2 separate regions of the Homo sapiens genome follow, and region 2 is linked to region 1. The links are contacts of gene promoters, found by promoter capture Hi-C in human tissues and cell types (Jung and others, 2019). All regions are on one chromosome and are shown on one strand. The core of a region is centred on a gene start or on the middle of the fragment in contact, and the rest is flanking DNA. Distances in the headings are between cores, read along the strand shown. Region 1 holds the start of ZNF394 (zinc finger protein 394). Region 2 holds the start of MOSPD3 (motile sperm domain containing 3).

Region 1 (4,508 bases), core at 1,217-3,716:
TGACCTCGTGATCTGCCTGCTTCGGCCTCCCAAAGTGCTGGGATTACAGGCGTGAGCCACCGCAACCGGTTTGAATTATTTATAAACACCTTTTGCATTTCAATAATTTATTTCTTAAATAGATAACACATTTGCATGAGTCAAAATTCAATAAGGCACTTAAGGTCTTCCTCTCATTCTCATTCTACATTCATTTTTCTCTCTAGAGATAGCCAAGATGACTAGTTTCCTTTTTTTTTTTTTTTTTTTTTTTTTTTGAGATGGTTTTGCTGGTTGCCTAGGCTGGAGTGAATGGCACGATCTTGGCTTAGTGAACCTCTGCCTCCTGGGTTCAAGTGATTCTCCTGCCTCAGCCTCCCGAGTAGCTGCGATTACAGGCATGCGCCACCATGCCCGGCTAATTTTGTATTTTTTAGTAGAGACGAAGTTTCTCCATGTTGGTCAGGCTGGTCTTGAACTCCCGACCTCAGGTGATCCCCTCGCCTCGGCCTCCCAAAGTGCTGGGATTACAGGCGTGAGCCACCGCACCTGGCTCCATAAGAGATATTTTTATGTCTAGTTATTAAACACACCTGGATTGATAAATAGTGTTCGGTTTGTTTGGGCGTGGGGTGGGGAGGGGGATTGCTTGAACCCAGGAGGCAGAGGTTGCAGTGAGCCGAGGTCAGGAAATCAAGACCATCCTGGCTAACATGGTGAAACCCCGTCTCTACTAAAAATACAAAAAATTAGCTGGGTGTGGTGGCACGCGCCTGTAATCCCAGCTACTTGGGAGGCTGAGATAGGAGAATCGCTTGAACCCGAGCGATACTCCCTCTCAAAAAAAAATTTTTTTATTTTTATATGGAGACACATCCTCTCTATGTTGCTCAGGCTGGCCTGGAACTCCTGGTCTCAAGCGATCGTCTCATTTTATGCAAGTTGCAAATCACCAGCAGCTTGACATCAACCAAGACACTTTGTTTTAGAGACAGAGTCTTGCTCTGTCACCCAGGCTGGAGTGCACTGGTGCGATCATATCTCACTGCAGTCTTTACCTCCTGGGCTCAAAGGATCCTCCCACCTCAGCCTCCCAAGTAAGTGGTGTATCCTGAGTTGGTTCCTTCCAGTGGGTTCATCCTCTCGCTGACTTCAAGAATGCAGCCTCCGACCTTCACTGTGTTACAGCTCTTAAAGATGGCACGGACCCAAAGAGTGAGTAGCAGCAAGATTTATTGTGAAGAGCGAAAGAACAAACCTTCCACAGCATGGCAGAGCACTCCAGCCGGTTGCCTCCGCTGACTGGGGTGGGAGCTTTTAGTCTCTTATTTGTCCCCTCCCATGTCCGTTTCTGTCGTATCAGAACGCCCTTTTTTCCATCCTCCCTGCGATTGGCTGCTTTTAGAATCCTGCTGATTGGTCCATTTTACAGAGCGCTGATTGGTGCATTTTACAAACCTCTTGCTAGCTACAGAGCGCTGATTGGTGCATTTTTACAAACCTCTTGTAAGACAGAAAAGTTGTCCAAGTCCCCACTGGACCCAGGAAGTCCAACTAGCTTCACCTCTCACTGGGACTACAGGTGTGCACCACCACACCCAGCTAATTTTTTATTTTTTGTAGACATTGGGGTCTCCAATTCTTGGCTTCAAGCGATCTTCCCCCCTCAGCCTCCCAAAATGCTGGGATTACAGGCATACGCCACTGAGCCAGGCCAGGACACATCTTTGAGCCTCAATTTCCTCATCTTTTTTGTTTGTTTGTTAGGATCAAAGTCGTTAACATCTGATGTACATGGAAGCACTTAGTTTTAAAAAAAAAACAAAACTTTTTCCAACTGGGCGCAGCGGCTCACGCCTGTAATCCAGCACTTTGGGAGGCCGGGGCAGGCGGATCACGAGGTCAGGAGTTCCAGACCAGCCTGACCAACATGGTGAAACCCCATCTCTACTAAAATACAGAAAGTAGCCGGGCATGGTGGCGCGCGCCTGTAGTCCAAGCTACTCAGGAGGCTAAGACAGCCTGGCGACAGAGCGAGAGTCCGCCTGAAAAAAGAAAAAAAAACAACTTTGTCCAACCTGGGCAATATAATGAAACCCCATCCCCACAGAAAAATTAATAAACCGGGCGTGGTCGCGCGCACCTGTAGTCCTAGATACTTGGGAGGCTGAAGCTGGAGAATTGCTTGAACCCGGGAGACAGAAGTTGCAGTGAGCCGAAATCGCGCCACTGCAGTCCAGCCTGGGCGACAGAGCCAGACCCTGTCTATTTAATCCTGAAGGTTCCCGCCCTTGCCGGAGCTCGGCCACCGGCTCGGACGCCCGTATTTCCTCGGGATGCGGGAAACCGTCAAGACCCTCTGCGTCGGGCGGGGCTAGGACGATAAACCAGCGAGATGCACCTCACCCCATCAGGCGCCTAGAGAGGCCCCGGAAATGCAGGGAAAGGTGCCGCAAGGCCTCGATGACGCGCTTCCGGCACGGGATGTTTTCGGTTGTTTGACCGAGAGAGTTGTAGGCGCAAAGCTGAGGAAAGGAGAGTGTGGAGAGGGGCCTGGTGTGGTGGGGCCCGGTGTTTGGGACCGGAGGGTGTTGACGGCTGATGAGTTCCTTGGGTTTGCTCTTTCTTCACCTGAAAAGAAGACTCCAGGAAGGGCAGCACATGCCGGAGAAAGATGAATTCCAGCTTGACCGCCCAGAGGCGCGGCAGTGACGCCGAGTTGGGACCCTGGGTGATGGCTGCGAGGTCCAAGGACGCGGCGCCGTCCCAACGCGACGGACTTTTGCCCGTGAAAGTGGAGGAAGACTCACCCGGAAGTTGGGAGCCCAACTATCCCGCGGCTTCGCCGGACCCCGAAACTTCTCGACTGCACTTTAGGCAGCTGCGTTACCAGGAGGTGGCTGGACCGGAAGAGGCGCTGAGCCGGCTCCGAGAACTCTGTCGTCGGTGGCTGAGACCCGAGCTGCTCTCCAAGGAGCAGATCCTGGAGCTGCTGGTGCTGGAGCAGTTCCTCACCATCCTGCCCGAGGAGCTTCAAGCCTGGGTGCGAGAGCACTGCCCAGAGAGCGGGGAGGAGGCGGTGGCCGTGGTGCGGGCTCTGCAGCGAGCGCTCGATGGAACCTCATCCCAGGTGAGAAGCGAAAGGCCTGTTCTGGAGGTGGGAGTGTGGAAAATAGGCGTTTAGGGGTGCTCTGCGTTTCGGAACTTACTTCCTTATTACATTTCGTGTGAACATTGGGGTGTGTATGGACTTCCTTTCTGTAGGCCACAGTGACAGATCCATCCAGGAAATGACTTGTTATAGACCTCAGCATAAAGCGAACACGGATTACTGGTTTTCTTTCTTTTTCTTTTCTTTTTTTTTTTTTTCTTGTTGTTCTTGCTGTTGTTTGAGATGGAGTTTCACTCTTGTTGCCCAGGCTGGAGTGCAATGGCGCGATCTCGGCTCGCTGCAACCTCTGACTCCCGGGTTCAAGCGATTCTCCTGCCTCAGTCTCCCGAGTAGCTGGGATTACAGGCGCCCGCCACCACGCCCGGCTAATTTTTGTATTTTTAGTAGAGACGGGGTTTCACTGTGTTGGCCAGGCTGGTCTCGAACTCCTGACCTCAGGTGATCCGCCCGCCTCGGCCTCCCAAAATGCTGGGATTACAGGCGTGAGCCACCGCGCCCGGCCTTGTTTACTTTTAATCTGTATCATATTTCCATTCCCATACATCACAGTGATATAAGTTAAAGAAATATTTTGCTCCTACCTACCTCCAAAATTAGTGTAAATAGTCCACAGAAAGGCTTTTCAGGATTACAAGAGAATGTCAGCCTCTATCTCTGATCTCTCCAAACTCCCTTGTCGGTACAAGACTCAAGAAGAGTGTTAGTGCTGTACAGGGACAGCAGGTACTGAATGGGGCTCTTGTGTTGTTCCAGGGGATGGTGACTTTCGAGGACACGGCTGTGTCTCTAACCTGGGAGGAGTGGGAGCGCCTGGACCCAGCACGGAGGGACTTCTGCAGAGAGAGTGCGCAGAAGGATTCCGGGAGCACAGTTCCGCCGAGTGAGTGCTGTTGCTCTGCTGGTTTATTGCGGTGTGTGGTTTGTGAAGGGCTGGTTCACTACCATCCCTGAGCCACTATGCCATTCCCAGACTTGGGCTGAGAGCCTTCAGGTGCCTTCTGTAACGCAAGCAGGAGCCTCTGTACTGCTAGGTGCTAGATTCAGCTTTTTACTTTGGTTCATTTTTAATGTTTTATACATACAGAAAACTATATAAAAAAAAGATAATGACCATCCCCTGTGTCTACCACCCAAGTTTATCAGATCTTAATACTTGGCCATATTGCCAAGGAAATAGTATGTTACAGCTGTAGGTGAGGCCCCCACATAGCCTCCCTGAAACCCTTCCCCTCTATCCTTCTCCAGAGGTAGCCAGTAAGCTGACTGTTGTGTTCATGACTTCCATGCATGTCTTATATTGTCTCTACATAGACACGTAGCTCCACGCTGTATATCATTACTGTATGGCTTTTTTTAC
Region 2 (4,541 bases), core at 42-2,541, 1.1 Mb before region 1:
ATGTTTCCACCAAAAGACAAAAGACTGAACCAGGAGACTTCTTCAAATCCAATTTATCTCATCTCTAGGGAAATGCTAGTTCCTCCCTCCCTACAGAACTCAAGATCCCAGTCTCCCAACTCACGCTCCTGGAAGTGTCTGGCCGTGGGTGGTGGTGTCCCAGCAGGAGGCCCTGGGCGAGGCGCTGGATCTGGCTGTCCCTGAAGCTCAAGGGGGTACGCTGGGGCTCTCAGAATGGAGGTAATGTCCTTGCGTCCCACCACTCGGCCCTCAGCTCCTTCCTCAGACAGCTCAATGCGGAAGCGGTCCTGGACATCATAGTGGCTGGGAATGGGTGCCACATGGCGAATCACACTGGTCCCAAGGTAGGAGAGAAGCCCATTGGGGTGAATGAGGCAGTAATCCAAGGAAATCTGGGCCTCCCCCCAGAAGTCTCTCCCTTAGGGGCACAGGCAGAGGATAGGGCAAATAGGTTAAAGGGGGCAAGGTCTCAGACCTCAGACAACAGGTGGCAGCGACCCCTGGCTTCCACAAGCCTCCCCACCCTCCCAGCTCACTCACATGTCAATGCAAGACTGGGGCTTCACATATCCCTCTGCGTCAAACACCGTGTATTTGGCAGGTGCTGTGCACAGGACTGGGGGATAGAGACACACACAGACAAGCCCTGCCATGTGGGTCATTTAAGTCCCCTCTGCCTTCTGCCCCGGAGGCTGGACATGACTTTCCCAGTCCACCAAAGCTGGACGTGCAACCCTACCCATCTGACTCCTCCAGCCAACACAACCCCCCAGTGTCCGGCCACCAGCCCCCACGAGGCGCCGATCCCTTTACCTCGGAAGCGAAGCGCAGTTCCTGTGGGGTTATAGAGGGTCAGCAGCTGTCGGGGTCCGCTCCGCTGGTCCGCCCTGAATACTAGATCCGGGGGAAAGACCAGGACCGGGACAACGGGTCCCAAGGGAGGAGGGGCGCCCCGGGACCCCCGCCCAGGGGGCCCCGGACCCACCAGCTCCTGGTCCTGGGGCGCCCCACGGCGCATGCAGGCTCTGGGCGGTCGGACATCCGAGGGCAGAGCTCAGGGGACAGGGCCTGGAGTCAGAGCTGGGGGGCGTGAGGGGCGAAAGGGGACAAGATGAGCTCCCGGAGCAGGGCCTCGACTGATGCCGCCGCCGCCTTGGAACCCCGCTAGATGGGGCTCCCGCAGACCCAGGCCCAGGGCCCCCAAGACCTTTCCTCTTCCAGCTCTGCCCCAGGTTCCTTCGGACCCGCCGAGCCCCACCTCGACGGCCACGCCCACCCCGCTAAACCCGGCCCCTCGCAGCTCCCAACCCGGCCTTCTCCTCACGCCCAGCTCACGATCTCCATAAGCCCCGCCCCGCCGCTGGCCTCGCCCCTTCCGGGCGTTCCCGGACGCCCGCCTCCTCTCTCCAGCCAGACTCCGCCCGCTGCAGCGGGCGCCTGCAGAGCGACCTGTGACGCCGCCTGCTTCCTGGGAGACCTGTGTTTGCGTCTCCGGCCCCTCCCTAAGCTCGGACACGGGCCCCATCGGGCTTCTGCCTCAAAACGGTCGCTCGCGTTAGGATGCCCACCTTGTGGTTAAAGCACCTGCCAGTCAGCTTGTGGTCAGATTAATGTTGCCATGTTCCAGAGAGTCCTTTTCTATACTTCCGCCGTACGGCCTCTGTCATTGGCTAGGACGTCTTTGTTTCTGCCGTAACTATACGCCGATTGGTGTGCTGAAAGACCAAACAACGCCCTCCTTCTGTCGTCTGCGATTGGCTGGATTCCGGTGACGTAACAGTTGTACTGGCTCGAACTCGAGCCCTGAAGTAACTCAGAGAACCGGGGGCGGGGTTTCGAACTGGGCTTTGTTCTTTCCTCCCTATTCTTGAGATGGTCCAAGTCAATCTCCCACCGGGAAGCCCTTTTCCTCCTCTTCATTCCAGGCTCTAGAAGCCTCTGCAGGAACCAAGCCTGTTTTCTTTGCTTTTTTTTTTTTTTTTTTGAGACGAAGTCTCGCTCTGTCACCCAGGCTGGAGTGCAATGGCACGATCTCGGCTCACTGCAACCACCGCCTCCAGGGTTCAAGCGATTCTCCTGTCTCAGCCTCCCGAGTAGCTGGGATTATAGGCGTGCGCCATCACGCCCGGGTAATTCTTTGTATTTTTAGTAGAGACGGGGTTTCACCATGTTGGTCAGGCTGGTCTCGAACTCCTGACCTCAGGCGATCCACTTGCCTCAGCCTCCCAAAGTCCTGTAATTACAGGCGTGAGCCACCGTGCCCGCCCTCTTTTTTGCTTTTTTAGAGACAGAGTCTCACTCTGTCGCCCAGGCTGGAGTGCAGTGGCGCTATCATTGCTCACTGCAGCCTCCAACTCCTGGGTTCAAGCGATTCTCCTGCCTCAGCCTCCCGAGTAGCTGGGATTACAGGCGTGCATCACCATGCCTGGCTTTTTGTAATTTTTTGTAGAGACGATCTCGCTATGTTCTGCAGGCTGTTCTCGAACTCCTGGGCCCAAGCGATCCTCCCACTTAAGCCTCCCAAAGTGCATGAGAGCCACTGTTCCTTCCCCAGGCTCAAAGTCTGTTTTCTATGGGTTGGAGGTTCCTCCCATCTGGGACTCCAGACTAAGTCTTGCCTCCTGTTTCTCACCTTCCTGTGAGGGACGTGGGAAATCACTCACATTTGCACAGGGAATTAAGATTTGCTGATTTCAAACCCATGTTGTTTGAGTAATTATATATTTTAAAAAAGGATTTGCTAAACCCTGCCACTTTAATTGCATCGAATCTTCAACTCCTTTTACAGCCTGGATAAGGTGAAGAATCTGGGTCTCTGAGGGCACCCAGTTAGCAATGGAGCAAAGACAAAGTTGATCTTATCTGAAAGTCTCCTCTGAACATCTTGTGTAGAATCCCCGTGTTCTCTTTTACATTTTCTTTTTCTTTTTCTTTTTTTTTTTTTTTTTTTTTGAGACAGTCTTGTGCTGTCACACAGGCTGGAGGGCAGTGGTACAATCATAGCTCACTGCAGTCTCCACCTGCTTGGTTGCGCTCAACCAATCCTCCCACCTCAGCCTTCTGAGTAGCTGGGACTACAGGCGCGCGACTTCACACCCGGCTAATTGTATTTGTTTTTTTTGTTTTGTTTGGTTTGGTTTATTTTTTGAGATGGAGTCTCGCTCTTTCACCCAGGCCAGACTGCAGTGGCGCAATCTCGGACTGCAGTGGCGCGATCTCAGCTCACTGCAAGCTCCACCTCCCGGGTTCACACCATTCTCCTGCCTCAGCCTCCCGAGTAGCTGGGACTACAGGCACCCACCACCAAACCCGGCTAATTTTTTGTATTTTTAGTAGAGATGATGTTTCACCATGTTAGCCAGGATGGTCTGGATCTCCTGACCTTGTGATCCGCCCGCCTCAGCCTCCCAAAGTGCTGGGATTACAGGCGTGAGCCACCGCTCCCTGCCCTGTATTTGTTTTTTTAATAGCACTTATAGTGATACATGACCTCCTATTTTATTGTTTCTCTCTCCTCCAGTAGAATGTTTTTTCCTTTTCACAAGAGCAGGGACTTTGTTTAGTTTTCTGTTGTATCTTTAGGACTTATGACAGTGCCTACCATTTGGAATGAACAAATGAATGAGTGACTAGGATGAACTTTGAGCAGAGATCTGACTGGATTTAGGAAGTGAACCATGAGATATGTCTATGGGAGAGAATTCTGGATAGAGGAAATAGCAAAGGCCTAAAACAGAAGTGTACTAGAAATGGGCAACAAGGCCGGGTGCGGTGGTTCACCCCTGTAATTCCAGCACTTTGGGAGGCCGAGGCGGGCAGATCACAAGGTCAGGAATTCGAGACCAGCCTGACCAACATGGTGAAACCCCGTCTCTACTAAAAATACAAAATTAGCCGGGCGTGGTGGCACATGCCTGTAGTCCCACCTACTCGGGAGGCTGAGGCAGGAGAATCGCTTGAATCTGGGAGGCGGAGGTTGCAGGGAGCCGAGATATCGCCACTGCACTGCAGTCCAGCCAGATCATGCCACTGTGCTCCAGCCTGGGTGACAGAGCGAGACTCCATCTCAAAAAAAAAAAAAAAAAAAAAGAAATGGGCAACAAACTGAAGTTGCCAATGTGACTGGAACAGATGATACATAGGAGATAATAGACATGAAGCTACGAGGCAGGAGAGAGAATGCAGATGATATAGGGCCTTGAACCCTTGGTAAGACTTAGGAAACTACAGGAAAGTTTTGAGTAAAGGAGGGACAAGATGTGACATAATCGGCCGGGCATGGTGGCTCACGCCTGCAATCCCAGCACTTTGGGAGGCCAAGGGGTGTGCATCACCTGAGATTGGGAGTTCGAGAGCAGCATGACCAACATGGAGAAACCCCATCTCTACTAAAAATACAAAATTAGCTGGGTGTGGTGGTGCGCACCTGTAATTCCAGCTAATCGGGAGGCTGAGGCAGGAGAATCATTTGAACCCAGGAGGCGGAGTTTGCAGTGAGCCGAGATTGCGCCATTGCACCC

Evidence for each region. Contacts are between HindIII fragments. The study calls those that stand out against the background at their distance.
Region 2: a contact is called between the fragment with the promoter of MOSPD3 here and the fragment with the promoter of ZNF394 in region 1, in 1 of the 25 tissues and cell types used here (aorta).

What each region holds. Positions count from the first base shown.
Region 1 is chr7:99,498,239-99,502,746 of GRCh38, reverse strand. It overlaps ZNF394 (zinc finger protein 394), which reads left to right and starts at 2,466. Exons shown (of 3, transcript NM_032164.4): 1 at 2,466-3,109; 2 at 3,905-4,031. The coding sequence starts at 2,654. RefSeq lists enhancers at 2,856-3,135, 3,358-4,026. The HindIII fragment of the contact is 27,367 bases long and covers 1-4,508 here.
Region 2 is chr7:100,609,290-100,613,830 of GRCh38, reverse strand. MOSPD3 (motile sperm domain containing 3) reads right to left here and starts at 1,291. Exons shown (of 5, transcript NM_023948.5): 1 at 835-1,291; 2 at 562-637; 3 at 125-354. The coding sequence starts at 1,039. RefSeq lists a silencer at 1,249-1,308 and an enhancer at 1,429-1,698. The HindIII fragment of the contact is 8,229 bases long and covers 1-4,541 here.